Regions from separate parts of the Homo sapiens genome. Here region 2 is linked to region 1. Evidence: promoter capture Hi-C in 16 types of primary human blood cells and fetal thymus (Javierre and others, 2016). All regions are on one chromosome and are shown on one strand. The core of a region is centred on a gene start or on the middle of the fragment in contact, and the rest is flanking DNA. Distances in the headings are between cores, read along the strand shown.

What was found. The method cuts DNA at HindIII sites, captures the fragments that hold promoters and counts their contacts. A CHiCAGO score of 5 or more calls a contact.
Region 2: a contact is called between a fragment that was not itself captured here and the fragment with the promoter of CDK14 in region 1, in 1 of 17 cell types (total B cells). The highest score is 5.2, in total B cells.

What each region holds. Positions count from the first base shown.
Region 1 is chr7:90,594,910-90,597,609 of GRCh38, forward strand. CDK14 (cyclin dependent kinase 14) reads left to right here and starts at 1,412. Exons shown (of 15, transcript NM_001287135.2): 1 at 1,412-1,809. The coding sequence starts at 1,719. RefSeq lists silencers at 1,020-1,219, 1,240-1,549, 1,740-1,939, 2,000-2,049. The HindIII fragment of the contact is 4,165 bases long and covers 657-2,700 here.
Region 2 is chr7:91,948,052-91,950,889 of GRCh38, forward strand. The region is part of intron 1 of AKAP9 (A-kinase anchoring protein 9); the gene reads left to right. Among named protein-coding and RNA genes, the nearest start is that of AKAP9, 8.6 kb to the left of the region's middle. The HindIII fragment of the contact is 312 bases long and covers 1,314-1,625 here.

The DNA.
Region 1 (2,700 bases), core at 162-2,661:
TTCCTGTCTTTTATCATCCGCAATCTATCAAGATCCTACAATGTGCTCAGTGTAGGGCGGAACAAATCACTGTTTTACCTCACAATTTAAGGAAGGCAGGGGGCTAGTTTTTAAGATAAAAATCTTTTAACAAAACATAAACTCCCCAAAATTTCCTACAAGCCAAACAGCATTGTCACACCCTCACAAGCTCTTATTACTTACACAGCCAAATGACTCAAGATTACTAACGTTTCTATTCATAAGGAGTTTGCTGGCCTCAGATCAACACAATCAAGCCCTCCCCCACCTTCCTTCTCTCTCCCCTGGGAGACTGACGTTTGGAACTCACGCCGCACCAGGTTTTTTCAGAATGAAGACGATGTGTGTTCGCTGCTGGAACTGTTTGTCCTGGGATTTTATAAACACCTCCCCCACTCCTTTTTAAAGTTCTGTTTTTGAGGTGGGGGAAAAGGAGGTCGGAATCTGTTTAGCCTTTAAATCTCCCAATTCAGAAATATATTCTAAGAATTTAATAGAAAAAGACCAAGGGCTGTGTCTGCTATTTACTGCAGAACTGGGTATTCCTATCAGAAATCACCTACATGTGTCACCAAGATCAGAGACAAGGATGAGGGAAACAGCATGATCCCTGCCTTCTGGAGGGTTACAGTTGAAGCTTCCGCTGCTTCTGCACTTGACCTCAAAACAAACAAAAAACCCACCGCAAACAACAACAAAAAAATCCAGGCCCACCTTTCCCCTTGGATCTTTCACTTGACAGCTTTCTCGGCCCAAAATAAGGCACCCTACATCTGAATGCATCCCTAAGGCCTTACCGCACCCAGTCCAGGAGGCAGTCCTGGCAGCTGCCCTCCACCGAACTCCGCGCTTTTTCACACACGCTCGTGGAAGGAGAAAACCGCTCAAACAACTGGACTCGGCCCGTTTCCTTTCGGTAACCTCCCCACAGCCCAACACGCTGTCCCCAGACGCTGCCCGCTCCCACCCCGGTCCCTTCGTGATCCTCCCGCGCGCGGGCGGGGCGGGGGAGGAGCGCGGGGGCGGCCGGGAGGGGCGCGGCCGGGAGGGGGCGCCGCCGGGGCGCGAGCCAGACACAGAGGGCCGCGGAGGACGCGGGAGGCGAGCGGGGAGCCGAGGTCGTGCTAGGATCCCGCGCCCAGGGGCCTTCGTCGAGGGAGGGGCGTGGCGGCGGCAGCAGGAGGGCAGCAGGAGCTGTCAGGCTGGCGGTTCCGCGCCGCGGCTCCTTCTGCGCTGCGCCCGCAACTCTGGGCTGAGAACTTCTCCCGCCGGCCCACTCGCCCTCGCCCCGCGCACTCGGCGCCAGGCGACTCCCGCACCTTGTACCCGGCCCGCCCCGCCTCCTCCTTCGGCCGCACCACTCCCCCTGCCGGCCGCGCTTCTCTCCGTTACAAAGGAGGGAAAATGAGCCGGGCGGCGGCGGCGCGGCGCGGGGCCACCACGGCGGCGGCGAGCGCGGCCGCCCCCGGCACCACGTAAACCGCCCCCGCCCGCCCAGCTGCGGCCCAGGCCGGAGCGGAGCCTGCCGTCCTCCGCCTGCCTGCTGCTCGCCTCCCTAGACCTGCGCGTCGCTTCCCGGCCCGCCGAGGAGGTGGTGGAGGAGGAGGCGCCGCTTTCCCCGCGGCGCGCGCCCTCGCCGTTGTCTGAGCTGTGCCTGGACCAGTTTGGGGAAGTTGTCGGGGCTCCGCGTCGCCCAGATGTGTGACCTCATTGAGCCGCAGCCGGCCGAGAAGATCGGCAAGATGAAGAAGTTGCGGAGAACTTTGTCGGAGAGTTTCAGTCGCATTGGTGAGTAGCGCGCTGCCCCCGGCCCCCCCAGCGCCCGCTCCCCTCGGCCTGCGCCCCCGCCGCGTTCCTGGCACCAGCCATGCAGCTGCCAGCGGGGCTGGCGTGGGGTGCGTTGTAGGCGGGGATCGAGGGCACAGTGCTAGGGACCCGGGGGAGGGCAAGGACGTAAAGGAAAGAGACCCCTCTTCCTCAGGATCTGGGGGTTCATTTGTAGATTCTCTCAAGCCTACAATATGGGTTCTCCCCTCCTCCGCCACTAGTGCTCGCCCTTTCGCGCGCGTGGGGGACGGGCGAGGGGACCCCTCGGCCCCCACCGCGCAAGGGGCTGCGCGGCTGCTTGGGCCACTTGTTATTTTTTGCGCACAGGCTTGGATATTGGGCGTTTAGTCAGTAATTTAGCTTTGGAAATTGGTGAAACGTTAGACTGTGCCCTGGTATTGTTTAACGTATCCAACCTAAAGGGAAGTGGGACAGTTACCTTGGGACCTATTGTTCGGTACTTCGGGTCCTGGAAAGCGAGATTTGGGTGTTCAGTCTCGAGGTCTCTGAATCTTCCCGCTGCTGGAGAGAAATGCGCGCTGTGGAGTTGTCTGGACATTTAGGAATGTCTCTCGAACTTGTTCCATTTAATAGAGCTCAGGGGCTGTTGTCTTTAAACCAAACAACAAACCAACTGACCAACAGTGTTTAGGACAGTGACGAATAAATGCATGTCACAGGTTGTAATAGGGTGACAGCAGTATCACGTGGAATGGGTTTGTTAGATTTTGAGTACTGGGCATAGAAAACCCCTTTTAACCTGAAGAGTTAGCTGCCTCCCCTACTGTCACAACTTTCACTAATAACATGTAACTGCCCTGAGCAAGAGAATGCTATAGACACAAAAGATAA
Region 2 (2,838 bases), core at 220-2,719, 1.4 Mb after region 1:
CCCTTTGTGTCTGGCTTCTTTCACTTAGTATGTTTTCAAGGTTCATCCATTTTGCTGCATATATCAGTACTTCATTCCTTTTTATGGCTGAATAATATTCCATTGTATGTATATACCATAATTTGTCCAATGATAGGCATTTGGGTTGTTTCTGTCTTTTGGCTATTGTGAATAGTGCTGCTGTGAACATTTGTATGGATGTATTTGAGTACCTGTTTTCATTTCTCTTGGGTATATACCTAGTAGTAGAACTGAGCAAGGTCATATGGTAGTTATATTTCAACTTTTTGAGGAACTGCCAAACTGTTTCCATAGTGACTGTACCATTTTACCTTCCCATCAGCAATGTATAGGACATTCCAATTTTCCCATAACCTCATTAACAGTTGTGTTTTCTGTTTTTTTTGTTTGTTTGTTTTGTTTTTTTGTTTTTTTAATACTCATCCTTGTGGGTATTAAGTGGTTTCTAATTGTGGTTTTGGTTTGTATTTTCCTAATGAATAATGATATTGAGTATCATCTTTTAATGCACTTTTTGGCCACTTGTAGATTTCTTTTTTTTTTTTTTTTTTTTTTTGAGATGGAGTTTTGCTCTTGTCTCCCAGGCTTGAGTGCAATGGCGCAACCTCAGCTCACTGCAACCTCCACCTCCTGGGTTCAAGTGATTCTCCTGCCTCAGCCTCCCTAGTAGATGGGATTACAGGCATCCACCACCATGCCCGATTAATTTTTTTGTATTTTTAGCAGAGATGGGGTTTCACCATGTTGGCCAGGCTGGTCTTGAACTCCTGACCTCAGGTGATCTGCCCGCCTCAGCCTCCCCAGTAGCTGTGATTACAGGCATCCACCACCATGCCCGATTAATTTTTTTGTATTTTTAGCAGAAATGGGATTTCACCATGTTGGCCAGGCTGGTCTTGAACTCCTGACCTCAGGTGATCTGCCCACCTCGGCCTCCCAAAGTGCTGGGATTACAGGCCTGAGCCACTGCGCCTAGCCCATTTGTAGATCTTCTTTAGAGAAATGTCTATTAATATCCCTTGCCCATTTTTTAATTGGGTTGTTACCAACTTCTTTTATCTAATATTAATTATATATGTATATAAAATATATATATATCCTTTCCGTATGTGTGGAGAGAGAGAGAACGTGTGCACTCAAGCACCAGAGAGGAATGGGTAGAAATACGTATCCCCAGTGGGATTATCTTCCATATATATATATTTTTAGGCTTTTTGGGCTTTGCCAAAATTTAAATTGTTGCTTCCTTTGAGTGATAGGTTCTTGGTGAGTTGATAACAGCATGATGCTGAAGCTTGATTTCTTTGTTGGCCAGTGAGTCATTCCATTCCATGAGCAGCTGTTTTACAAGTGCATGCAGTTGGTTAAAGGGGCACCTGTTGGATTTTTGGCTTGATCATTGCCAGTCCATTTACACTGTGAGAAAAAAGTAACTTAGTGTTCAAAAATGAAAAGACCTGTCATTTTAAACATGGGGGATCTGTAGCTACTTCACTAGTATGAGATGTCTTTGTTGTCATATTGACACCCCTTTTATTTTTTGTCTTAGTCATCACCAAACTGTAACTTACAACACTTAGTGCCCTTCTAGGTACATTGCATAAAGCTTTGGTTGATTTTTGCATGGGTTTAACAGTATTCAAAAGTGTTCAATATTCAGAGTATTCAAAAATTTAACATTATTTCAGGAGTAGTTTTGCTTAGGTTCTTTGTTTAAATTTATAGATTCTTTTGTAATATGTAAAATTCCTTTTTCCTCCTTGTTCACTAACAATGTAGTGTTTGTTTTCAGTTACCATCAGAGTTAAGATTCTTATTGTGGTTTACTGTTCTCTGAGATTTTTGTGTGGTGTGAAAGTTTCTCTGTAAAAGTCTAAGAGTTTTTCCCCCTTTTAAGAAATAATTTCTTAAAGCCCCCAAGATTATTGTTTTGATGATTCAGAACTATAATCAACTTTACTATACAAAGTCCTAATCTGTAAAGATTGATTTCATAGGTTCTCTGATTTACAGATCTCTGAAAAACTAATAGGGTATAAAATCTAGGCTCTCTCTCCTATTAGTACTGAACACACTATAAAATTCCTTGTTGTTTACTAGGATTGCTCATTGTGGGCTCTGTGGTTAGGCTGTATTTATTCCTCCAGGGTCTCACTTTTTTTTTTTTTTTTTTTTGAGACAGAGTCTTGCTCTGTCACCCAGGCTGGAGTGCAGTGGCACTATCTCGGCTCAGTGCAAGCTCTGCCTCCCGGGTTCACGCCATTCTCCTGCCTCAGCCTCCCCAGCAGCTGGGACCACAGGTGCACGCTGCCAAGCCCGGCTAATTTTTCTGTATTTTTAGTAGAGACGGGGTTTCACTGTGTTAGCCAGTATGGTCTCAATCTCCTGACCTCATGATCCGCCTGCCTCGGCCTCCCAAAGTGCTGGGATTACAGGCGTGAGCCACAACGTCCAGGCTAGGGTCTCACTTTTATTCAAGTTAGTATTGCCTTATTAGTTGTTTCCCCAGAGAAGATAGTGACAGGGATCAATTATAACTAAAATAGTAGTTCTCCATATGTATCATGAATCAAATTTTGTGTGTGGAGACCTTGTGGGGATTGCAGTGGGCATGGGGCAGAGATCTCAGTTAATTCTTACGCCGTTTATATCCTCTACTCCATTTCTTGAGAGCCAAATAAATTAGTAGATCTTCTTCTAAATGGCAAGATATTAGAAAATATGTTAAAACTGCATTAGGAAATATCTACTAGGAGTTTATATATGAAATAATGAGTTTTGGCTGAAAGTTACAGAAACTCTTTTCTATTCATATAC